Regions from separate parts of the Homo sapiens genome. Here regions 1, 2, 3, 4, 6 and 7 are each linked to region 5. Evidence: promoter capture Hi-C in human tissues and cell types (Jung and others, 2019). All regions are on one chromosome and are shown on one strand. The core of a region is centred on a gene start or on the middle of the fragment in contact, and the rest is flanking DNA. Distances in the headings are between cores, read along the strand shown. Region 1 has its middle 12 kb from the start of KCNN1. Region 2 overlaps TMEM38A (transmembrane protein 38A). Region 3 holds the start of MED26 (mediator complex subunit 26). Region 4 holds the start of MPV17L2 (MPV17 mitochondrial inner membrane protein like 2). Region 5 holds the start of DDA1 (DET1 and DDB1 associated 1). Region 6 holds the start of IL12RB1 (interleukin 12 receptor subunit beta 1). Region 7 holds the start of SLC35E1 (solute carrier family 35 member E1).

Region 1 (3,639 bases), core at 515-3,014, 650 kb before region 5:
TCGGCCTCCCAAAGTGCTGGGATTACAGGCATGAGCCACCACACCTGGCCCCCTTTCTCTCTTTCTCGCTTTCTTTCTGAGACAGAGTCTCACTGTCACCCAGACTACAGTACAGTGGTTCAATCATAGCCCACTGTATCCTCGACCTCTTGGGCTCAAGTGATCCCCCCATCTCAGCCTCCAGAGTAGCTGGGACCACACACATGCACCACCCCACTGGTTAATTTAAAAAAAAAAAAATTGTAGAGATGGGTTCTTGCTACATTGCCCAGGCTGGTCTCAAGCTCCTGAGCTCAAGTGATCCTCCTGTCTTGGCCTCCCAAAGTTCTGGGATCACAGGCATCAGCCACTGTATCCAGCACAAAACACTTAAGCTTAATTGATGCCCCATGAAATTCCACAAGGGCTGACCTGGGCTGGCCTTTGTCCTTATTGCATCCCAGCATCCAGCCTAGGGCCTGGCAGACAGTAGCTAGCTTGCTCAGTGTTTGTTGATTGACTAAATGACCACCACCTCTGTTTTCTCCACACCCCCATGGGCAGCTTAGTGCTGACCCTGGATGTCAGTCAGTGTTCACCAAGGAGGCCTGGCTCAGTGGCTCACGCCTGCAATCCCAGCACTTTGGGAGGCCAAGACAGGTGGATCACCTGAGGTCAGGAGTTCGAGACCAGCCCGGCCAACATGGGGAAACCCCATCTCTACTGAAAACACAAAAATTAGCTGTGCGTGGTGACGCATGCCTGTAATCCCAGCTACTTGGGAGGCTGAAGCAGGAGAATCGCTTGAACCCGGTGGGGTGGAGGGTGGAGGTTGCAGTGAGCCAAGATCATGCCACTGCGCTCCAGCCTGGGCGACAGAGTCAGACTCTGTCTCAAAACAAACAAACAAAACAAAACAAAACAAAACTAAAAAAAAAAAGTTCACTGGAGAAAGGAGCACAGGAGCTGCCTTCCACAGAGCTGGCCTACCCTGGGGGCTGTCTCCAGCGAGACCACGAGAGCCGGGAAGTAGAGGCTGTGTGTGGGGGGCGGGGGCGGGAGTGGTGGGACAGAGCTCTTCCAACCTGGCTCAACACCCCACTTCTAGGTCATCTGGCCTCTCTGAATAGTTTCCCCAACTCCAGTGATCAAAGAAAGTGGACAGTAACTCCCCGGAGGCTCTAGAAAGCATAGTCCTTGCTATCATCATCATGATATATATGATATAATAATAATTATATTATTATTTTTTTTCTTTCTTTCTTTTTTTTTTTTTTTTTGGAGATGGAGTTTCACTCTTGTTGCCCAGGCTGGAGTGCAATGGCACAATCTCGGCTCACTGCAACTTCCGCCTCCTGGGTTCAAGTGATTCTCCTGCCTTAGCCTCCCAAGTAGCTGGGATTACAGGCATGCAGCACCATGCCTGGCTAATTTTGTATTTTTAGTAGAGATGGGGGTTTCACCCTGTTGGCCAGGCTGGTCTCGAACTCCTGACCTCAGGTGATCTGCCTGCCTTGGCCTCCCAAAGTGCTGGGATTACAAGCGTAAGCCACCACGTCTGGCCTTTTTTCTTTTTTTTTTTTTTAATTAAAGAGATGGGGGTCTCGCTCTGTCGCCTAGGCTGGAGTGCAGTGGCCATTCACAAGCGTGATCATAGCTCACTGCAGCCTCGAACTCCTGGACTCGATACTCCCACCTTAGCCTTCCGAGTAGCTAGGACCACAGGTGCACGCCACTGTACCCAGCTTGTTATTATTTCAAAAGCTGGCACTTTTTCCTCAGGTCACCTTTTTTTTTTTTTTTTTGAAACAGAGCTTTGCTCTGTCGCCCAGGCTGGAGTGCAGTGGCGCGATCTTGGCTCACTGCAACCTCTGCCTCCCGGATTCAAGTGGTCCTCCTGCCTCAGCCTCCCAAGTAGCTAGGATTGCAGGTGCCCACCACCATCCCCGGGCAATTTTTGTATTTTTAGTAGACACGGGGTTTCGCCATGTCGGCCAAACTGGCCTCAAACTCCTGACCTCAAGTGATCCACCTGCCTCAGCCTCCCAAAGTGCTGGGATTACAGGCGTGAGCCACCTAGCCTGCCCAGTTACCAATTTTTCTATCCAACCCCTGAGCCACCCCCACCCCCAAAGGCGACCCAAGTCTGGGATTCACTCACCCTAGGGTGCAGGGGTCTCCTCGCCGAGCCACTGCAAAGGGGCTGTCCCCTTCAGTCCTGCTGGTGACCACTTGACTGGGAGAGAGGGTGGCTGCTGCTGCCTTTCCTGTCCCTTTGAGATCTGTAATGATCAGACAGGGGGTGCGGGGTGGAGGCGGGGACCCAAAAGAGTAGGGTGCAGACAGCTCCCGGACTACAGTGGTCTTTCTTATTTTTTATTTTTTTGAGACAGAGTCTTGCTCTGTCACCCAGGCTGGAGTGTAGTGATGTGATCTCAGCTCACTGCAACTGCCGCCTCCAGGGTTCAAACAATTCTCCTGCCTCAGCCTCCCAAGCATCTGGGATTACAGGTGCCTGCCACCATGCCCGGCTACTTTTTGTATTTTTAGTAGAGATGGGGTTTTGCTGTGTTGGCCAGGCTGGACTTGAACTCCTGGCCAGAGGTGATTCACCTGCTTCAGCCTATTACGTACAATGGTCTTTACAGCAGATCTGCGCTCTGGCTTGGTGTTGCTGAGCTGGGTCATCTCCTAAGCTTTCAGGAAGCTTAAGAACAGTGGCTTTATCACTCCAATGGGGCCCTGGGCTAGCCCCACCTCTTCCATGTCCCCTCCCTAAGGCCACTCCTCCTTTCACTGGGCTCCAGAAGCTAGACACTGAATGCTTTATCTGTCTTTCCCAATGCTGTTCCTGCTCACCCCCTCACATTGCCCCTAGTTCCTTCGCCATGGGGAGATCTAGGTGGGTGACATTCAGGGAGGTGACATTTTGTCACCCAGGCTGGAGTGCAGTCGCATGAACATGGCTCACTGCAGCCTTGACTTCCCGGGCTCAAGCGATCCTCCCACCTTCGGCCCCCAAGTAGCTTGGACTACAAGTGTGCACCACTACACCTGGCTAATTTTTTTAATTTTTTGTAGAGACAGGGTTTCAGTACGTTGCCCAGGCTGGTCTCGAACTCCTGAGCTTGCCTCGCCCTTCCAAAGTGTTGGGATTACAGTTGTGAACCACCTCGCTTGGCAGAGCAGCTGAACTCTTGCTCCCCAGCTCTGAAGCTGCCCTGGGAGCCTGTAGCTCCCTTGGCGTGCTCCCTCCATCTATTTAGTGCTGTCTGCAGAGGGCTTATAGAAGCACATGGTACCCAAGTCCGATCCTGGAGAAGAGGGCAGAAAAGGACACCCCATGGAGGGCAGGGGCAATGCCAGACCCCAGAACAGGACTGAAGGGGAAACCCCCAGCTGCCCTTTCTCTCACCAGGACCTGGGATCGGGGCAATGGTCACCTTGGATGGCTCAGGGGCCACCTGTTCCAGCCAGGGGGACTTGGTGCTGACCCTAGCCTTGGGAGGGCAGGGCCTTGTCCAAGGTCACTCAGCGGGTTGCTGCGTCGGAGTAAAAATTATCTCCTCCGTGGCTCCAGAAGCTTTGACTTCCCCATCTATAAGCCCCCTCCCCCCAGGGATTTCCTTTGATGAGGTCTTGGGCAGCCTGAGGAGGCTG
Region 2 (3,259 bases), core at 564-3,063, 630 kb after region 5:
AGTGCATGCCTGTAATCCCAGCTACTCAGGAGGCTGACAGGAGAATCACTTGAACTCAGGAGGTGGAGGCTGCAGTGAGCTGAGATTGCACCACTGCACTGCACTCCAGCCTGGGCAACAGAGCAAGACTCCATCTAAAACACACACATACACACACACACACACACACACACACACACACACACACACACACACGAAACAAAAGAAATTGCTATTCTGACCTCAGCTGATCCCAAGATCCCTATGAGCTTATGCTGGTATTCTTTTTTTTTTTTTTTTTTAACTTTTTTTGTTTGTTTCAAACAGAGTGTCACTCTGTCACCCAGGCTGGAGTGCAATGGTGCAATCTCAGCTCATTGCAAATTCTGCCTCCCAGGTTCAAGCGATCCTCCTGCCTCAGACTCCCGAGTAGCTGGGATCACAGGCAGCCACCACCATGCCTGGCTAATTTTTGTATTTTCAGTAGAGAAGGGGTTTCACCATGTTGGCCAAGCTGGTCTCCAACTCTTGGACTCAAGTGAACCTCCCACCTCAGCCTCCCAAAGTGCTGGGATTACAGGCATGAGTCACCGTGCCCAGCCTTATGCTGGTATTCTTACACCTGCTGTCTTAAAAAGAATTTTTTTTTGTAAAATATACATTAAATTTATCACTTTACTTTTTTTTTTTTTTTTTTTTTTTGGACACAGGGTTTCACTCCCATCACCCAGCCTGGAGCGCAGTGGTGCAATCACGACTCACTGCAGCCTTGACTTCCTGGGCTCAAACACTCCTCCCACCTCAGCCTCGAAAGTATTTGGGACTACAGGCACGCGCGCCACCATGCCAGGCTAATTTTTTGTATATTTAAAGTAGGCACGGGGTTTCGCCATGTTGCCCAGGCTGGTCTCAAACTCCTGGGCTCAAGCCATCCACCTGGCTCAGCTTCCCAAAGAGTTGGGATTATAGACGTGAGACACCATGCCCAGCCCATTTTAAACATTTTTAAGTGTATAGCTCTTTTTTTTTTTTTTTTTTTTTGAGACAGAGTCTCACTCTGTCACCAGGCTGGAGCGCGGTGGCGCGATCTCGGCTCACTGCAACCTCCTCCTCCCGGGTTCAAGTGATTCTCCTGCCTCAGCCACCCGAGTAGCTGGGATTACAGGCATGCGCCACCACGCCCAACTAATTTTTGTATTTTTAGTGGAGATGGGGGTTCACCATGTTGGCCAGGATAGTCTCAATCTCTTGACCTTGTGATCTGCCCACCTTGGCCTCCCAAAGTGCTGGGATTACAGGCATGAGCCACTGCCAAGTGGCTGGCCAAGTGTGTGGTTCTATGGCATTATATTCACATTGTTTTGCCATAATCACCACCAACCATCTCCAAAACTCTTTCATCTTCCCAAACTGAAACCTATTAAACACTCACTCCTCATCCCCCATCGCCTAGCCCCTGGCACCATTCTACTTTCTGTCTCTATGAAATTGATGACTTTAGGAATCTCATGTAAGCGAAACCATACAAACTTTGTTGTTTTGTGTGGCTTATTGAGCATAATGTCCTCAAGCTTCATCCCCATTGTAGCATGTATTAAGCTTTTATTTCCGGGCTGGGCACGGTGGCTCACACTTGTAATCCCAACACTCTGGGAGGCTGAGCCACGTAGATCACTTGAGCCTGGGTGTTCGAGACCAACATGGGCAACATAGTGAGACCCCACCTCTGCAAAAAATTTTAAAAATTAGCTGGGCGTGGTGGCATGCTTCTGTAGTCCCAGCTACTCGGGAAGCTGAGGTAGGAAGATCACTTGAGCTGGTGAGGTGGAGGCTGCAGTGAGTCATGAGCATGCCACTGCACTCCAGAGCAAGACCCTGTTGAGAGGGGAGGGGAAGGGAGGGAAGGGGAGGGGAGGCCAGCCTGGGCAACACAGTGAGACCCCATCTCTACAAAAAATTTTTTCTAATTAGCTGGGCATGGTGGCATGCACCTGTAGTCCCAGCTACTCAAGAGGTTGAGTTGGGAGGATCACTTGAACCCAAGAGTTTGAGGCTGCAGTAAGCCATGAGTGCACCACTGCACTCCAGCCTGGGTGACAGAATGAGACTCTGTCTCAAAAATAATAAATATATAAAGTCTGTAGTTGAGTTAATGATAGTGTACCCATGCCAATTTCCTGGTTTTAATAATGCACTATCATTACATAAGATGTCATTGGAGGAAGCTGGGTAAAGGGTATTTGCAAATTCTCTGTACCATTTTTGCAACTTCTTGTGAGTCATAAACTCTTCCAAGATAAGAAGTATTTTAAAATTCCATATTAAAAAGAAGGGGGCTTGAAAACCCCATTGCTGAGTCCTTAGGTCCTATAGCTGGGCTTTTTTTTTTTTTTTCTTTTTAAAAAAAGGGCTGGGCACGGTGGCTCATGCCTGTAATCCCAGCACTTTGGGAGGGCGAGGTGGGTGGATCACCTGAGGTCAGGAGTTCAAGACCAGCCTGGCCAACATGGTGAAACCTCATCTCTACTAAAAATACAAAAATTAGCCAGGCGTGGTGGTGGGCGCCTTTAATCTCAGCTACTCGGGAGGCTGAGTCAAGAGAATTGCTGGAACCTAGGAGGCAGAGGTTGCAGTGAGCTGAGATCGTGCCATTGCCCTCCAGCCCAGGCCAACAACAGCGAGACTACCTCTCAAAAAAAAAAAAAAAAAAAAAGGTCATGAAAATGCAACACTCGGGGTACAGTATTAATGTCTATTCACTAAATCCTTGCATCTTGTATTACTCATGTAAAGCCTTTATAATCTTTATAAATAGTTCTATCCTTATGTTGTATCTTCGTAATCTTCTAAGGCCACACCTTGGAGTTAGAACTTGTGTCTCCTGGTATGACCACTTCTTTCATCATATTGATTCTGTCTTTCCCAACTAGTTTCGTTTTGCAGAGAACAACTTTATGATCAAGTTGTAAGGTACAGCTACTCTGTACATTACATGACCAGAGCCAAAACCAACGATTCCCCTAATACAACTTATTCTAATGAAATGAAAACTACAGTCAGTATTGACATGAGATAACAAGGTCACAAAATGTAATCTCTCTCTTTTTTTGTTTGAGATGGAGTCTCGCTCTGTCCCGCAGGCTGGAGTGCAGTGGCGCAATCTCAGATCACTGCAAGCTCCGCCTCACAGGTTCATGCCATTCTCCTGCCTCAGCCTCCCTAGTAGCTGGGACTACAGGCACCCGCCAGCACGCCCAATTTTTTGTAATTTTAGTAGAGA
Region 3 (3,309 bases), core at 794-3,293, 680 kb after region 5:
TGGCCACGCAGGTCTCGAACTCCTGACCGCAAGTGATCTGCCCACCTCGGCTTCCCAAAGTGCTGGGATTACAGGCATGAGCTACCAGGCATGAGCCACCGTGGCTGGCCCCACATTTTGTTTGAGACAGAGTCTGTTGCCCAGGCTGGAGTGCAGTGGTGTGATCTTGGCTCACTGCAACCTCCGCCTCCCGGGTTCAAGCAATTCTTCTGCCTCAGCCCCCTCTAGTAGCCAGGATTACAAGTGCGCGCCAGCATGCCCGGCTAATTTTTGTATTTTTAGTAGAGATGGGGTTTCACCATGTTGGCCAGGCTAGTCTCGAACTCCTGAGCTCAAGTGATCGCCCACCTCCGCCTGCTGAAGTGCTGGGATTACAGGCTTGAGCCACCACGTCCGGCCCAAATGTTTCTTAAAATAACCTGACCCATGCAAAATAAATTGCCTCCTATGTAATACTTTATTAAAAAAAAAAAAAGATACTGTACATCCGAGTTAGAAATTAAGAGAGAGGCAAGACCAGAATATGCCTGAGGAAGGCTTTGCTTATTTTGCTTATCAGAAATGAGAGAATTATCTCCGAATGGGCCAGTTTCCAACTTGGACCATGTACACCATGTACACAATGCACCGCATTCTGGGAGGGGCGAGGTTGGGAGCAGTAAATGACAAGTGTTTTGCCCGTGTTTCTTTTCTCCTCCAAGTGTGATGTAAAACTTTTCACATGTGCAGAAGCACGCAACCATAGCCACGTGCAGAAGCAGCCGTTTTTGCAAATGAAAATATTTCCCAGAAGCACAACAAATACAAGACTAACAGGTGTCGGGCAGCTCCAAGGCACACATGTGGTTCTCATCAGCTGTCTTCCTCCTGTTTTAAATCTAGGTCTTCCTGTAACAGTGGGAAAAAAAAGATTTCTCCCGAGGCCGCCGAGCTTGCCTTTCCATCCCGTCTCACAAGAGCATTTCCAACAGAGCTCCCAGAGAGAGGGGAGCAATTACCAAGGCAATAAACAGGGTGGAGGGAGGAGGGGCGCCCTTAAACTTGACATCTGCGGTTCTGGGCTTAACCCCGAAGTCTAGGTGACCTTGGGCCTCCGTTTCCTCCTCTGTGACGTGTTTGGTTAAGAGAATGAGCATCTCAGTTTTACAGAATCTCAAGGCAGAGGCGGGTAGAAGGGTCTTTCAATCACGGGGTTCTCTGCCGGTGGGGGGGCGGGGGGACTGTGCCCCCACAAGGGACGGCGGCAATGACTGCAGATTGGGGGAGGGGGCGCTTCGGAGGCCAGAGATGCCGCTCAACTTCCGACAGATCGGGGGACCCGCCCCGAAGACAGAGCGATCCCGCCCAAATGCCAGTGGTGCCGAGGTGGAGAAGCCGCCGCGTAGACGCAGATTTGCAACCTCCGGCTTTCCCAGCTACGGCGGGCGGCTTCTGCCAGAGGCGCTTTGCCGCCTCACGTTTTCGCGATCGGGGTCGCGCGTGGCGGTGCAGACCCCCGCCCTGCCACCACACCCATTCCCACACCCTCTGAGGGGCGGGGGGGCCGCGGCGACACCCCCGGACTCCGATGACCCTTCTGCGCGCAGAATCACAACGTGGACGTCTGGTTCCCTCGCCCTCACAAAAAACTCGGCAGCTGCTCAGCCTGCGACTCCCGTCCCCCAGTCACGCGCCGGGAAGGCTCTCCCAGAGGAAGGATTTTCCCGCCGCCCTCCCCGCCCCGAGGTAGCCGCTGCGAGCGTCCGGGTTCAAGGACTCTTTGCGCGCGCGCTTCCGTCAGAAAGCCCCGCCCCGTGACCTGGACGGGGGCCGTTGCCCCGCCCAACCTCCTCCCAACGGCTGCCTAGGCCGGGCGGCTGGGCGGGGCGTCACGGGCGGACGAGTGCGCCTGCGCGCGCTTGCGCGGAGGCGCGGGGCGTGGCACACGGGCAGCCCCGCCCAGGCCTGGCGTCTCCGCCCGCCCCATCTCCCAACCTCCTCAGCGTGGCGCCGACGCTGCGTGCGGCGCGGACTACCCAGAGTACTCCGCGCGGGGGCAGCTCACTGGAGTTTGGTTCTCGAGGCGGCGGCAGCGAGCGGCGGCGGCTCCGGCGGCTCCTCCTCCTCCTTTGGTGGCGGCGGCGGCCCGGGACCGAGACCCGGCCCCGGCTCCCCTCTCCGCCACCCCGCGCGCCCCCAACCCCCCGGCGCCGCGGGGAACATGCGGCTCCGGCTCCCGGAGGCCGGCGAGTGAGTGACCCCCGTCCCCCGCCTCAGCCCGCCCGCCCGCTGGCCCGGCCGCAACCCCCCGCCTCGCCCAGGCAATGACAGCGGCTCCGGCGTCTCCGCAGCAGATCAGGGACCGGCTGCTGCAGGCCATCGACCCCCAGAGCAACGTAAGTACCCGCCGCGCGAGCTGGGACGGAGGCCGCATGGGCCCGGGACCCTCCCCCTCTCCTGTACCCCTCGCCCACCGGGCTTCGGGGGACCCGTCTGGCGCCCACCTCCCCTCGAGGGCCGCTGCCATCCCTGCCTCTCGCTTCTCGGGCCCGGGCCGGGGGCAGGTCGGGCAGCCCGGCAGCGCTCGGTACGTGAGGCCGAGGCTTCCGTGCGGCCTGGGCGGAGGAAGCAGACGGGGGAGCTGAGGCTAGAGTTTTTCCTCCCTTTCTGCTCCAGCTCTACGACCCTCACTGCTCTGGACGAAGCTTCTCTGCCTCGCCCTCCCTCCGGGACCCGAGACCCCCGGGAAGCCCTCCCGGAGCGGGAAGGGGAGGGAGAAGGGCTGTGAAGCAACTGGTGTCCGGGGTATGACTCGGGGAACCTATGTCTCCCATGTCTTGGCCTCCTGGGTGATCAGGGAAGTCCTTCTTCCCCCTCCTCTCGGCTGGCAGCACCTTCCTGGCTTCGGAGAGAACCCCCAGTCTGTTTTGCCCCTGGCCGGGTACCTAGGGTACGTGGAGAGTCTGTCTCCCTTCTGTGACTAGACACGCCTTTGCCAAAACCCTCTTGGGGTCGCTGCCGACGATAGATGATCTCGGGGAGGGTGGGATCCTTCCTGTTGCCTTTCTGGGCCTCAGTACCCATTGCGTCTCTGACCAAGCCAGAGCTCCATTTTTTAGGTAGTGAATTAAAGAGGACTTTTCTCTCCCGTTTACCCAAGAGCTCTGTTTCAGTAGGCTCTTTCCCTCACCTGGGGGTCTCAGCCTGGTGGTTTTTGACCCAGACTGTCGGGGTTAACTCCAGAGTGTCGCTTCCTCGGGTGCCCCTTTGCTGAGGCTACTGTTTGCGGAGGGACCGCCCCCTCCCCTTCCGTGTGTGTGTGTGTGTTGT
Region 4 (3,642 bases), core at 673-3,172, 880 kb before region 5:
CGTGTAGCCCCCTGGGGAGTCCCCTGGGTGCCTGGTATGCCCTCCACACTCACCCGGTACTTCAAGTAGGACAGGTACGTGTCCCAGCCCAGCGTCAGGCCGTTGATGTAGGTGACTCGAAATTGGGGGGGCACGAAGAGGAAGTTCACGAACTGCGCAGCAGGCCACACGCACCAGTCTGCCTGCGGGGAGAGGCGGGGGATGAGGGGCGGGGCCAGAGCTGGGCGGGGGCGGAGCGGCCATCAGGGGGCGGGGCCGGACATGTGCAAGGGGCGGGTGCTCCCACCTTGTAGAATTCCCAGAACTTCTCCCGCAGCTCCTGGCAGCTCTCACCCACTGTCTGACCCTCCAGGCAGCCAAGGCCTGGGAAGCAAACCAAGAAATGAGAGTGTTAGAGGCCAGGAAGTACTGTTGAGACGACAAGATGGGCTGACGATGGAGGGGGCGGGGTTGGGCCCCTGAGAGCCCACGCCGCCCACCCCGGGCAGAGGGACAGGGACTTTCAGATGGGATGGACAGAGAATTAGGGTAGCTGGTGTAGAGACAAAACAGAGCAAGTCAGTCCCAGTGAGAGAAAGAGAGGTTATAAACATATAAACACGTGCCCCAATGGAGACACCCTGAAGTTGAGGGAGTTGTGTTACTTTTCCATCACAGACCAGGAAGCCGGGCTGGGAGGTGGAGAATGAGAGACTCCTCTATTAATACCGCTGTCTTTACCGAGCCTAGGGCTGGCACGGTTGCACCCCATTAAGTCTAGCCTCAATTTCTCTTCCTTCAGGCCTCAGAGCCTTTGCATTAGCTGTTCCCTCTGCCCGCTGGTTCCCTCTTCATGTCTCAACTGAGTGTGGTCCCCTTCTTTGGGAAATGCTCTCAACCTCCCGCCCAGGGCAGCCCCAACAGATACAGTCCTCGTCCCTCCTACACTCGCCAGCGTTCACATCGGCCGAGTCCGTCCTGTCCCCGCTGTGACCTGGCTCCTAGTCCAGGGCGACCCAAACAGGGGGCAAATTGGAAATGCACCTCTGCATCCTTCTTAACACAAAGCTGGCTCCACCCCTCCCGACCTATGAGAGGCAAAGCCTAGGCTTAGGAGGCTCCTTACCCAAGAAGTACCAGACGCCCAGCAATGGAGAGGCTACCAGCTGATCCACGAGGACCTTCTTGAGGACATTTGGGAAGCCTCGGAGGCCAGACGCAGGGAATAGGCGGTCCAGCGACAAGTACCAGTAGTGCAGGAAGGGACCCATGCTGCAGCCCACCGCAAACATGCTCGCTATAAGAGTGTAAGTCAGGGGGCTGGGTCGGGCCGGCAAGTTCCTCAGTCCATTCCCTCTCTCCCTCCCTGGCTAAGGCCTGGGTAAGCCCAATGCCATCCCGGAGCCTCAGCCTCACCGGGAAAACCGGAAGAGCCCACCCGTGCATTCTTCCACTACAAGCCCCACCAGGAGGCGCGGCTCCAGAGGCTCCTGGGTAGTGGGCAGAGACCTCCGGGGGTTGGGAGGTGATGGAGACCCAGAGCTGCGGGGAGACAGACACCCGGGGAGAGGCGCGGTCAGGGCAAGGGTCCTGCGGGGGACTGAGGCCACGGGTCAGGGGTCACGGCCCGCAGTCGGGTGTCGGGATCAAAGGTCGCCCGGGGTGAAGGACTAAGCAGCGTGGCGTCCTCACCGGAGCGCCGTGGGTCGAAAACCTGGCCGGGCCGGGCGCGGATCTCCCAGGACTGGCGCACGCCATCACCGGCCGCCATGAGCGCGCCGCAGCCCAGCGTGTTAGTGACGAGCAGCGCGCGGCCCTGGAATAGAAGCTGCCCCGCGGATAACAGGCGGCGTAGCCGGCGCCAGCCACCCCGCGCCATCGCCCTCAGGAACCAAGGAACCGGCGCGCCGCTCTGCTTTCGCCGCGCCGACCAGTCGCGAGTCACTGTCGATCCCAAATTGCCCGCCCCTCCGGCTCCCCGGCCAATCGCATAAGGATCTTCAGTCCGCAGGTCCGCCCCGAGCCGCGACGCGTTCACCAATCGCAGGCAGCCTCGGGGAGCCACATTGCCCGGCCCGAAGAGTATTGACCAATAAAAGGCAGGCGTTCTATCCCAAGGTCGAGCCCCCAACGACCTCCCGAGCTTCACGGACCAATCGGAAAAAAGAATTGCGTTACGTCCCGCATGCCGATTGGTAACGTTGCACTCTTGTTTCCCCGCCCCTTTCTGTGCCAGCCTATGGGAAACCGTCGCAGCCCCGTCCTACCGACACGCCCAGGACGGCACTGGCCAGTCGCAGACCGGCGTCACGCTGGCAAATCAGTGACCGTCGTCCCGCCTCCCGCGTTAGGGTTGGTCAATCTTAGGCAGTTACAACGCCTTCTGGCCTGGTTGCCCTACGTATTTCCAGATTCTCCTGGACTTAACCAGAAGGGATGTGATCTGTGGCCAGAAACAATTATATCCTAATTATACCGTTCCCGTAGGGAACAATTATTTTTTTTCTTTTTTTGAAATGGAGTCTCGCTCTGTCACCCAGGCTGGAGTGCGGTGGCGCGATCTCGGCTCACCGCAACCTCTCCCTCCCGGGTTCAAGCGATTCTCGTGTCGCAGCCTCCCAAACAGCTGGGATTACAGGCACGGGCCACCACGCCCAACTAATTTTGTATTTTTGGTCTAGACAGGGGTTTTGCCATGTTAGCCAGGCTGGTCTCGAACTCCTGACCTCAAGAGATCCACCCGCCTTGGCCTCCCAAGGTGCTGGGATGATGATAGGCGTGAACCACCGTAACTGGCTTAAAAAATGATTTTCAATGGAAATCCCTATGCATTCTCTACTAGAGTCGCAAACTACTGCCTGTGGGCTGTTAACTGTTGAAGGTGTGCAGGTTCTTGGCATCTTGAACAAAGAATTGGACAAAGTGCACAAACAAAGCAAGGAAAGAATGAAGCTTAACAAAAGCAGAGATTTATTGAAAACGAAAGTACACTCCGCAGGGTGGGAGCCAGTGGAGCATACGGACTCAAGAGACCTGTTTAAGAATTTTCTGGGGTTTAAATGCCCTCTAGAGGTTTTCACTGGTTACTTAATGTACGTCCTATGTAAATGAAGAGGATGAAGTAAAGTTACAAAGTCATTTACTGGATGTATGCCCTCTTTAAATGGAGAAGATATTTCCTGTCATAGCTGAATTGTTTCCATTTGATTTGGCCTTATGTTCCCTGCCTCCAGACCTATTCTCCTGCCTCAGGGCCAAATCCTGTCCCTGCCTGTTTTGTGCTGCTCATGATGAGCTAAAGGTGTTTCTTACATTTTTTAAATGGTCAGTCAAGAAGGTGGGGATTGGCCAGGCGCAGTGGCTCACGCCTGTAATCCCAAACAGTTTGGGAGGCGGAGGCAGCTGGATCACCTGAGGTCAGGAATTCAAAACCAGCCTGGCCAACATGGTAAAACCCCATCTCTATTAAAAATACAGAAATTAGCCAGGGGCGTGGTGGTGGGCGCCTGTAATCCCAGCCACTCGGGAGGCTGAGGCAGGGTAATCTCTTGAACCCGAGAGGTGGAGGTTGCAGTGAACCGAGATAGCTCCAGTCTGGGCCACAGAGCGAGACTGTCTCAAAAAAAAAAAAAAAAAAAAAAAAAAAAGGCTGTGCCTAGGGCC
Region 5 (3,568 bases), core at 972-3,471:
AGAGATGAGAAAGAGAAGCAGTACACTAATAGCAGAGAACTGGGGGCCCCCCAAAGTCAGGAATGACCTCGATCACAGGAGGAAGAGTGTTCCGAGCAGAAAGAGCAGCAGGTGTAAAGGCCCTGGGGTAGCAGGAACCTGGAGTGTGAGGAAGTGAAAACAAGGCCAGGGTGGCTGAAGCTCACAGACAGAGTGGAGAAGAGAGTGGAGATAAGGTCATAGAGGTGGCCAGGGGCCTCAGGGTGAGGAGGGGAGCCGCCAGGGTTCCTGGAGCATTTTATAGGCTAGAAAGTGGTATCATTTGATGCACATCTTTAAAAGCTCCTTCTGGCCGGGCGCAGTGGCTCACACCTGTACTCCCAGCACTTTGGGAGTCCGAAGCGGGTGGATCACAAGGTCAGGAGTTCAAGACCAGCCTGGCCAATATGGTGAAAACCTGTCTCTACTAGAAATACAAAAATTAGCCGGGCATGGTGGTGGGTCCCACCTACTTGGGAGGCTGAGGCAGGAGAATGGCTTGAACCCAGGAGGCGGAGGTTCCAGTGAGCCGAGATCATGCCACTGCACTCCAGCCTGGGCGACAGAGCAAGACTCCATCTCAAAAGAAAAAAAAAAAACAACCTCCTTCTCAGGCCCCATGCAGTGCCTCACACCTGTAATACCAGCACTTTGGGAGGCTGAGGCAGGATCACTTGAGCCCAGGAGTTTGAGACCAGCCTGGGCAACATAGGGAATCCCCATCTCTCCAAAAAGTACAAAAATGAGCCTGGTGTGGGGATCTCTTGAGCCTCCAGTCTGGGCGCCAGAGTGAGACCCTGACTCCAAAAAAAAAGTTCCTTCTGGTTCAGGTGAATTATGAACTGCCAAAGGGGTGAGAGCAAGGCTAGGAGACCAGGGAAGAAGCTGGGACAGGTATGCAGGTGGGAAGTGGCAGTACCTGCAACAGGGCATGAAGCCATGGATGAATTCAGGTGTGTTCAGAAGGCAGAGACAATCTAATCCACTTATGATTGGCTGTAGGGATGAGACTGTACCAAGGTATCAAGGACAACTCCCAGGCTTGGGGACCCGCACACTAGGAACCCACCTTCCCATTTCCTTCCTGAAAGGGAGTCTTCCTTTCATCCCCACCACATCCCAAGGACTGTGGATTGTGGGCTGGGACTCTGGGTCAGGGGACAAAGGAGACTTGAGGTATCTTGACCAAGCTTCCCATCACCCTTCCCAGCCCTCAGGATGCCAACTAATGGGGGTTGTGGAGAGGCTTTAGTTCCACTCTGAGGGTGGGTCACCATCCCACTTTTCAGGTGGGGAGACTGAACCCCGAAGAACCACCAGACCCAAATTCCAGGATGACTGAGGAACCCTGAAGGAATTTCAACCTTCCAACAGCCAGGTGGGGACGATCCACACTTCATAATGAGGGGACAGCTAGAAGAGAACGTCACTGGCCTCGAGTCACCCAGCTCATCTGTTGAGCATTCACTATCCTGAGTCCTTTACGACGTCAGTTACCTAAATTGTCACCACCCTAAGAGGTTCAGACTACTGCTACCCTCATTTCACAGGGACAATCCATGCGGATCGGAGATAAAAGTTTTTCATTCTTAGAGGCGGGTAAGGGCCCAGAATGGTGGAGGTGGGGTCAGGGCCCGGGGAACCGGGACAATCGGCGATGTCGCACTTCCTTTGGCGACAAAGCCCTGCATATCGCGGTGCCAAGCCCCCTCCCCCGCCCCGGGGCCCAGGCCGGCCTCCCAAATTCTCCTGAACTGAAGAGATCCAGGTCCGGCGTGCTGAGAACGAGGCCAGACCAGGGGGTCTTACGGGACCCCATCCCCACCCCAGACGATTTCCGGGGGGAGCCGCAACCCGGAAATGAATGAGTTGTCAGGGCTTGGTATCCTGGATGGGGTCAGGGGTCGGAGAAGGAGTGGCAGTGGGATCAGCAGGAAGCTCTCGGTAGGGTCCGGGGGTCGAAGGTCACAGGTGAGTGGGAGGGGCGGGCCGGACCTGAGGGGACCGGGCAGAACGGAGAGGGGCCTAGGGGGATACTAGAGGTGGGTGGGACCACAGCGCCATTTTGTCTAGCAGAGGGGGAGTGGGGGCCTGGAGGCCATCCTCACCATCTTCTGTTTCCTCCGTCGCCGCCTCGGCCGCCGCCTCAGCCTCCACCGCCGCCACCAGAGCCGCCTTCTTAGCCGCCGCCTCACAGTAACTTCCAGCCACGGCACAGCCCACACTGATGGCGCCACCACCTCCCTGTCATTGGTGTGCAGTCTAGCCCCGCCCCCACATAGGAGCGCTTTGCACGCTTCCATTGGCCGCATCCAGCTAACTCATGCGCCCATTGGTTGCCACGCCTCCTCCCATTGTGGTCAAGTTCGGTTGAAGAAGCAAAGCACCTCCCGGTACTTGGAAGCAATGAAAGTGAGATCCGGAAGTGGGCGGAGGCCTCGGCCGCGAAGTCTCTTGGGAGCTGTAGTTTACAGCTCCGCGAGGCTCTCTAGAGCTTTTGTGTGTCTGTGTGTTTTTAAGATGCGAGGTTCGGCCGGGTGCGGTGGCTCACTCCTGTAATCTTAGCACTTTGGGAGGCCGAGGCGGGTAGATCGCCTGAGGTCAGCAGTTCGAGACCAGCCTGGCCAGCATGGTGAAACCCCATCTCTGCGCCTGTAATTCCAGCTAGTAGGGAGGCTGAGGCAGGAGAATCACTTGAACCCGGGAGGCGGAGGTTGCAGTGAGCCAAGATCGTGCCATTGCACTCCAGCCTGGGCAACAAGAGCGAAAATCAGTCTCAAAAAAAAAAAAAAAAAGCCAGCCGGGCGCAGTGGCTCACGCCTGTAATCCCAGCACTTTGGGAGGCCGACGCGGGTGGATCACGAGGTCAGGAGATCGAGACCGTCCTGGCTAACACGGTGAAACCACGTCTCTACTAAAAATACAAAAAATTAGCCGGGCGTGGTGGCGGACGCCTGTAGTCCCAGCTACTCCGGAGGCCGAAGCAGGACAACGGCGTGAACCGTGAGTGAGGCGGATCTTGCAGTGAGCTGAGATCGCGCCACTGCACTCCAGCCTGGCGGACAGAGGGAGACTCTGTCTCAAAAAAAAAAAGGCGGGGCACGGTGGCTCACGCCTGTAATCCCAGCAATCCCAGCACTTTGGGAAGCCGAGGCGGGCGGATCACGAGGTCAGGAGTTTGAGACCAGCCTGGCCAACATGGTGAAACCCCATCTCTACTAAAATACAAAAATTAGCCGGGCGTGGTGGCGGGCGCCTGTCATCCCAGCTACTCAAGAGGCTGAGGCAGGAGAATCGCTTAAAACCAGAAGGCGGAGGTGTCAGTCAGCCGAGATTAAGCCACTACAGTCCAGTCTGGGCAACAAGAGCTAAACTCCCTCTCAAAAGAAAAAAAAAAAAAAGACACAGGGGTCTTGCTATGTTTCCCAAGCTGGTCTCGAACTTCTGGCCTCAAGCAATCCTCCAGACTTGGCTTCCCAAAGTTCTGGGAGCCATCGTGCCGGCATCTTCTTGTGTTTATTACGTTTTTAAAGCAGCCCTAGAAGATAAG
Region 6 (3,146 bases), core at 594-3,093, 780 kb before region 5:
ATTACAGATGTGAACCACTGCACCCAGCCCAGCATTATGTTTTTGAGGGTTCATCCACATGGTAGCTTGGATCAGAGCTTCTCCACTGACATTTAGAGGCTTTGCCGACAGTGGGGAGGGAGGGGCAGGAAACAAAATACTCAGAGGCTAAGAAATGGAACATGGGGGAAAGACTAAGTTGCATCTCTTAAATTTTTTTTTTTTTTTTTTTAAGAGACAGGATCTTGCTCTGTTACCCAGACTGGAGTGCAGTGGCACAATCACGATTCACTGCAGCCTCAACCTCCTGGGTTCAAGCCATTCTCCCACCTCAGCCTCCTGAGTAGCTGAGAATACAGATGTGTGCCACCACGACTGGCTAACTTTTAATTTATATATATATATATATTTTGAGATGGAGTGTCACTCTGTTGCCCAGGCTGGAGTGCAGTGGCGCGATCTCGGCTCACTGCAACCTCCACCTCCTGGGTTCAAGCGATTCTCCTGCCTCAGCCTCCTCAGTAGCTGGGATTACAGGTGCCTGCCACCACACCCGGTTAATTTTTGTATTTTCAGTAGAGACAGGGTTTCACCATTTTGGTCAGGCTGGTCTCAAACTCCTGACCTCGTGATCCACCTGCCTTGGCCTCCCAAAGTACTGGGATTACAGGCGTGAGCCACCGCGCCTGGCCTAATTCTTTATTTTTTATAGAGATGGGGTCTTGCTATGTTGTTTAGGTAGACCCAAACTCCTGGGGTCAAGTGATCCTCCCACCTCGACCTCTCAAAGTGCTGGGATTAGAGGGGTGAGCCCAGGTGCACAAGGCTGGAGCTTGGCATGTGGGGAGGTGGGCATTGTGGAGGGCCAGCATGCTGCAAGCTCTTTGTAACAATTTGTTGGAAGGATGAAATTAGGCCATCCAAGAACACTGCCCTCCTTCAGCTCTTGAGTCTCAGATTCAGAAGCTGGCGAGATGGCCCGGTGCGGTGGCTCACGCCTGTGATCCCAGAATTTTGGTAGGCCAAGGCGGACGGATCATTTGAACCCGGGAGTTTGAGACCAGCCTGGGCAACATGGCAAAACCCCCTCTCTTAAAAAAAAAAAAATGCAAAAATTAGCTGGGCGTGGTGGTGCATGCCTGTAGTCCCAGTTCCTGGGGAGGCTGAGGTAGGAGGATGGCCTGAGCCTGGGGAGGTTGATGTTGCAGTGAGCCGTGATTGCACCACTGCACTACAGCTGGGCCACAGATCAAGACCCTATCTCAAAAGAAGAAAAAAAGAATTTGGCAGCCAGGCACGGTAGCTCACGCCTGTCATCCCAGCACTTTGGGAGGCTGAGGTGGGTGGATCACTTAGGGTTAGGAGTTCGAGACCAGCCTGGCCAGCATGGTGAAACCCTGTCTCTACTAAAAATACAAAAATTAGCTCGATGTTGTGGCAGTTGCCTGTAATTCCAGCTACTCGGGAGGCTGAGGCAGGAGAATTGCTTGAACCCGGGAGGCAGAAGTTGCAGTGAGTGGAGATCATGCCACCACACTCCAGCCCGGGCGACAGAGCAGGGCTCCATCTCAAAAAAAAAAAAAAAAATTGGCTAGAGAGGGCCAGAGACCTGGCCAAGTGCATGGAACCACAGGTGGCCCATGGGCCCATGGGGCTGGCATCTGGGTGTTCAGTTCAGGTCTGGGGCCAGCAGGGCAGAACCCCCTAGAACCCTGACTTGCTCCAAAGTCAGACTTGCTCCAGAGTCTGTGGCCGCCACCATCACCACCACCACGGAGCTGACTTCCTGGGTTTCTCTTTCACTTTGACTTGCCTTAGGGATGGGCTGTGACACTTTACTTTTTTTCTTTTTTCTTTTTTTTCAGTCTTTTCTCCTTGCTCAGCTTCAATGTGTTCCGGAGTGGGGACGGGGTGGCTGAACCTCGCAGGTGGCAGAGAGGCTCCCCTGGGGCTGTGGGGCTCTACGTGGATCCGATGGAGCCGCTGGTGACCTGGGTGGTCCCCCTCCTCTTCCTCTTCCTGCTGTCCAGGCAGGGCGGTGAGTCCCCTGACCCTGGCATGGCGGCTCCTCTTGCTGGGTGGAGGCACGTGTATGTGTGGAGAGCTGTGGGCCTGCTGTGTGGGTTGGTTTCATCTCTCTGTGCCTCAGTCTTTCCTGCTGTCAAATGGGAGATGGGCAGTCATGGCTTCTGGGATCGAACTTAGACATCTTTCCTCTGGTCTAGATTTTCTCTTCTGTGAAATGCACTAAATTTTTTCCACCTCCCGGAGTTCAATGAGAAAAAAAACTAAGGAAGGAATAAAAAGCAAGTATGTATCTAATAGGTATACATAGTATAGTATCTTATGTATGTAGTTTACAATAGATAGACATACATAATATAATGTATACAGTCATTTCCATATTTACGGGGCAATGGTTCCAGGACCCTCTGCAGATACCAAAATCCAAAGATGCTCAAGTTCCTGATATAAAATGGTAAAGTATTTGCATATAACCTATGCACATCCTTCCGTATACTTTACTTATTTATTTATTTATTTATTTATTTATTTATTTATTTATTTATTTACTGAGGTAGGGTCTCACTCTGTGTCCCAGGCTGGAGTGCAGTGGCCTAATCATAACTCATTGCAGCCTTGACCACCTGGGCTCAAGTGATCCTCCTGCCTTAGCCCCTTGAGTAGCTGGGACTGCAGGTGCACACTACCATGCCTGGTTAATTTTTTTGGTGTATACTTTTTACAGAGACAGCGTCTCGCTGTGTTGCCCAGGCTGGTCTCGAACTCCTGGGCTCAAATGATCCACTCACCTTGGCCTCCCAAAGTGCTCAGATTACAGGCATGAGCCACCATGCCCAGCCTTCCCATATACTTTTAATAATCTCAGGCCCTGCACGGTGACTCACTCCTGAAAATCCAGCACTATGGGAGGCCAAGATGGGTGGATCACTTGAGGTCAGGAGTTCGAGACCAGCCTGGCTAACATGGTGAAACCCCATCTCTACTAAAAATGCAAAAATTAGCCAGGCTTGATGATGGGCACCTGTACTCCCAGCTACTTAGGAGCTGAGGTGGGAGGATCGCTTGAACCCAGGAGGCAGAGGTTGCAGTGAGCCGAGATTGCAGCACTGCATTCCAGCCTGTGTGGCAGAGCAAGACTCTAT
Region 7 (3,613 bases), core at 1,093-3,592, 740 kb after region 5:
TGCTGCATTTGGGAGGACCTCCACATTTTATTCATTCAGGGCCACATTAAGGAATGTTTTCTTGTCTCACCCAGACTTTACCTGGCCTAGAGAGCAGCCCTCTGTAGGAGGCTCCCATAGCACAGGTCTCAGTGACTACCCCCACCTCAACAAAATACCTAGTTCTTACAAGGTATGGCCCAGAGGCTCAGAGCTGTGTGTGTGTGTCTGAAAGGCCACCCCATGGCCCTGGCCCCCAGCTGCCTTATTAGCTGGTTGGTGCTGACTCCAAAAAAATTTTTCTCCCTTGACTATAAAGTGCTCATCTTTTAGTTCCCCCTCGTCCCTGAAACTGTAGGCTAAGACTTTGGTTTTCCAGTTTTTCACTTTGGAATAGGTCATCTTACCCATATCTGCTTAATTTCACAAATGAAGAAACAGCTACACCTTAAGACATGCAGTCTCACAGGGCAAACCAAAGGTTCCTTCCAGCCTGTAAGACTACAGTCAGTCCAGAGCCAGTTTGAGAGCTAGCAGGGATTCCTGGCAAAAGCTTGGTGCAGAACACACTCCCCTCCCCAACAAAAGGCCATGGGCAAAGTGGCTTTGAAGGCAGGATGAGGTTGAACCCAGGCCTACCACCCACCAGCTGTGTGGCTCTGAGCTCATCTCTTCACTCCTGTGCACATGTCCCCATTTGGGGGGTGAGAATACCCCAGAGTTGTGAGAACTAAAACACAAAGCATGTCAGTGTGTCAGTGGAAGTATCTGACACTCAGCTGTGCTGTAGGGTGCCTATAGTTATACTTTCCTAATTTCACTGTGCCTATGTTTAACAGCTCTGCTGAGACATGGTGTCCCAAGGATGTGACTTTACTCTGATCCACAGAGGGTACAGCTGGAGGATATTAGGGTGCAGAGCTTGGCCTCCTATCAGCATCTCTAGAGTTTTGGGATAGGTTGCAGCTCCCCACTACCCCTGCCTGCAGGGACTACCATGCCTGTGTCCATGTATCCAGAAGGGCCTAGGGCCTTTGAGAATGCAAGGATAAGCTAAGATACCTTCCAACATTTGGGGAGCCAAGTTGGGTTGCTGCTTTCTACTTTTCTTTGAGACTGGGTCTCGCTCTGTCACCCAGGCTGCAGTGCAGTGGCGCCATCATAGCTCACTGGAACCTTGACCTGGGCTCAAGCCGATCCACCCACCTCAGTCTCCCTAGTAGTGGGTACCACAGGCGTGCGCCACCACGCCTGGCTAATTTTTGTATTTTTTGCAAAGATGAGGTTCTGCCATGTTATCGATGCCACGATCTCCAACTCCTGAGCTCAAGCAATCCGCCCACCTTGGCCTCCCAAAGTGCTGGGATTCCAAGCTTGACTCACTGCACCCAGCCGGTTGCTGCTTCTAATTTGACAAGTAAAAACACTGTAACGGAATTTTAACACCCTTTCCCCGAAAAAGTTGGAGGCACACGATGTGGAGAACAAATTATAGCCCTTGAATTAGTATAAGATCATCTTACTGAAAACCTCGTCCTGTTTTCCTCCACTGGGGCCTCCTGGGGCTGGTCCATCCCGGCTGGTCCTTGGACATCAGCCGTCAGGGCCCGGCACCTCCCCCTTCTGCAGAGCCTTGGAGACAGGTGTCCAAGGACGCTACCATGACCACGGTCCCCAGTGTGGCCAGGAAGCCTAAGACAAGTCGCTTCCCCATTCTGGACTTCGGTCTGTGAAATGCGGACAGTGATACCTACCGCACCGCGTTCCTAGGATTCAGTGGGATGATACCAGGGCCACGCCCGAGAACTGCGCACGTCGCGGTGGTTTCCAGAACATGATTCCAGGGATCGGGTGCTCCGGGATAGTCCCACTGCCAGAGTTTGGCCACGAGCGTGCGCCCCCAGTTTGCAGAGCGAGTTTAGCCCAAGAGCTTTTCACAAATGGTTTCTTTCCCTAAAAGGCCTTTTACCTTTGGTGTCAGCCGCCGCCAGCCATCAGGAATCAGGAATCTAGTTAGCGGTTGCCCTTGTATCCCTGGTCGAGGCCCTGATGTTTGGCCCACGCACAGACGCCGACGCTGCGAAGCCCTCCGCGCTTCTGTTCGCCCGTCCCGTTCGAGCTCCGGCTCCCGGTCACTGGGACCGCCCACGTCTCAGGTGGCACAGCTTGGACGCAGGTCTGTGTCCCCTTCTTCCGCTTCCGGCCTCGGCTCCGCCGGAAGCGCATCTACAGTGGACTGGGCCTGCACTCGAGACGTGGTGGCTGGCGCGTCGGCCGGCGCGGAGGGATGACGCGAGGAGGCAGCGACCAATGGGAAACGGCGTAGACCGGGGCGCCTGCCCCCCCGCCCAGCCCCGCCCCCGCCCGGCGTCGGGCCGTCGGACGGGCTGGAAGGGGCGGCCGCTCGGGCAGGATGGCGGCGGCCGCGGTGGGCGCGGGCCACGGCGCGGGGGGCCCGGGCGCAGCGAGCAGCAGTGGTGGGGCGCGCGAGGGCGCGCGGGTGGCGGCGCTGTGCCTGCTGTGGTACGCGCTGAGCGCGGGCGGCAACGTGGTCAACAAGGTGATCCTGAGCGCCTTCCCGTTCCCGGTGACCGTGTCGCTGTGCCACATCCTGGCTCTGTGCGCTGGGCTCCCGCCGCTGCTGCGCGCCTGGCGCGTGCCCCCCGCGCCGCCCGTCTCGGGCCCCGGACCCAGTCCGCATCCGTCGTCCGGCCCGCTGCTGCCGCCGCGCTTCTACCCGCGCTACGTGCTACCGCTCGCCTTCGGCAAGTACTTCGCGTCCGTGTCAGCGCACGTCAGCATCTGGAAGGTGCCCGTGTCCTATGCACACACCGGTAGGTTCCGCGCCCGGCCTCGGGGGCGGCGGCCGGGCCCGCCGCTTCGGGTTTGGGCGCATGGATAGGAGTGCGCCGCCCGGGGCGCGTCCCGCCGGACTGAGAAGTCAGCAGAGGGGCTGCCAAGGGTTTGGTAGGGGAGGGACACGCACGGGGTTCTCAGGGAGAAGAGGAGCTGAGAAGAGAGCTGAGAGGTAAGCAGGACAGACCACAACAGCCGTGGCAGGAGGAAGCCCTACCGAAAGAGAAGGGGCGAAGAGGTGTGAGGGGCTGCCAGGCCCTCCCATCCCGCCGTGGAGGTGGAACAGGTTGGGCCCTGAAATTCAGGCAGCCCCCTGAGTGCCCATCCCTCTCTTTGCAGTCAAGGCCACCATGCCCATCTGGGTGGTCCTCCTGTCCCGGATCATTATGAAGGAGAAGCAGAGCACCAAGGTAACCCCGGGCAGGGACTCTGGGCAGATGGGAGCTCCAGGGGGTTCCTCCCTGTTGCCAACTGGTGACGTGGTCAGGATCCTGGTCTGCAGGCTGCCTGGCTTCCCGTCAAATAGGGAAGTCAGTGTAGAGGTCTCCAGTGGCCTTTTACTACTCAAGTTCTAGAATCACCCTGTGAGCAGTGGTGTGTGGAGTATGTGTCCCTCTGTGATCTCTGCTGTGTGGTCTTAGGAACACTGTTGTCCCTTTCAGATCCAATTTTCCTCCCCGTTTTGATTCCCTACCTGGGTTTGCTGGTAGGTGATGGGTTGGTCACATCTTGGCCATACACCCCATGTGTGGCCTTTCCAGTGGGACTAGGGATGGAT

Evidence for each region. Contacts are between HindIII fragments. The study calls those that stand out against the background at their distance.
Region 1: a contact is called between a fragment that was not itself captured here and the fragment with the promoter of DDA1 in region 5, in 2 of the 25 tissues and cell types used here (dorsolateral prefrontal cortex and thymus).
Region 2: a contact is called between a fragment that was not itself captured here and the fragment with the promoter of DDA1 in region 5, in 1 of the 25 tissues and cell types used here (aorta).
Region 3: the fragment with the promoter of MED26 here is called in contact with the fragment with the promoter of DDA1 in region 5 in 1 of the 25 tissues and cell types used here (spleen).
Region 4: a contact is called between the fragment with the promoter of MPV17L2 here and the fragment with the promoter of DDA1 in region 5, in 1 of the 25 tissues and cell types used here (thymus).
Region 6: a contact is called between the fragment with the promoter of IL12RB1 here and the fragment with the promoter of DDA1 in region 5, in 1 of the 25 tissues and cell types used here (dorsolateral prefrontal cortex).
Region 7: a contact is called between the fragment with the promoter of SLC35E1 here and the fragment with the promoter of DDA1 in region 5, in 1 of the 25 tissues and cell types used here (pancreas).

Annotation. Positions count from the first base shown.
Region 1 is chr19:17,953,183-17,956,821 of GRCh38, reverse strand. It overlaps a transcript of KCNN1 not described here. Among named protein-coding and RNA genes, the nearest start is that of KCNN1, 12 kb to the left of the region's middle. The HindIII fragment of the contact is 4,437 bases long and covers 1-3,639 here.
Region 2 is chr19:16,676,189-16,679,447 of GRCh38, reverse strand. The region is part of intron 1 of TMEM38A (transmembrane protein 38A); the gene reads right to left. Among named protein-coding and RNA genes, the nearest start is that of TMEM38A, 17 kb to the right of the region's middle. The HindIII fragment of the contact is 4,607 bases long and covers 1-3,259 here.
Region 3 is chr19:16,626,938-16,630,246 of GRCh38, reverse strand. It overlaps MED26 (mediator complex subunit 26), which reads left to right and starts at 2,043. Exons shown (of 3, transcript NM_004831.5): 1 at 2,043-2,375. The coding sequence starts at 2,304. It overlaps LOC105372296 (a long non-coding RNA gene), which reads right to left and starts at 1,815. Exons shown (of 2, transcript XR_936361.3): 1 at 999-1,815; 2 at 439-888. RefSeq lists enhancers at 830-879, 984-1,915 and silencers at 1,430-1,509, 1,760-2,019, 2,120-2,179. The HindIII fragment of the contact is 10,464 bases long and covers 1-3,309 here.
Region 4 is chr19:18,191,498-18,195,139 of GRCh38, reverse strand. It overlaps MPV17L2 (MPV17 mitochondrial inner membrane protein like 2), which reads right to left and starts at 1,922. Exons shown (of 5, transcript NM_032683.3): 1 at 1,672-1,922; 2 at 1,106-1,276; 3 at 287-363; 4 at 54-182. The coding sequence starts at 1,858. RefSeq lists an enhancer at 1,778-1,827 and a silencer at 2,218-2,397. The HindIII fragment of the contact is 8,354 bases long and covers 1-3,642 here.
Region 5 is chr19:17,308,216-17,311,783 of GRCh38, reverse strand. DDA1 (DET1 and DDB1 associated 1) reads right to left here and starts at 2,221. Exons shown (of 5, transcript NM_024050.6): 1 at 2,127-2,221. The coding sequence starts at 2,129. RefSeq lists a silencer at 1,906-2,005 and enhancers at 1,793-2,356, 2,446-2,635, 2,357-2,918. The HindIII fragment of the contact is 11,596 bases long and covers 1-3,568 here.
Region 6 is chr19:18,085,631-18,088,776 of GRCh38, reverse strand. It overlaps IL12RB1 (interleukin 12 receptor subunit beta 1), which reads left to right and starts at 1,843. Exons shown (of 17, transcript NM_005535.3): 1 at 1,843-2,017. The coding sequence starts at 1,954. RefSeq lists enhancers at 1,512-1,571, 1,582-1,931. The HindIII fragment of the contact is 62,137 bases long and covers 1-3,146 here.
Region 7 is chr19:16,571,144-16,574,756 of GRCh38, reverse strand. It overlaps SLC35E1 (solute carrier family 35 member E1), which reads left to right and starts at 2,342. Exons shown (of 6, transcript NM_024881.5): 1 at 2,342-2,813; 2 at 3,175-3,245. The coding sequence starts at 2,393. LOC105372295 (a long non-coding RNA gene) reads right to left here and starts at 2,207. Exons shown (of 3, transcript XR_936360.3): 1 at 1,949-2,207. RefSeq lists enhancers at 2,036-2,125, 1,433-2,307 and silencers at 2,226-2,445, 2,576-2,685, 2,846-2,975. The HindIII fragment of the contact is 29,713 bases long and covers 943-3,613 here.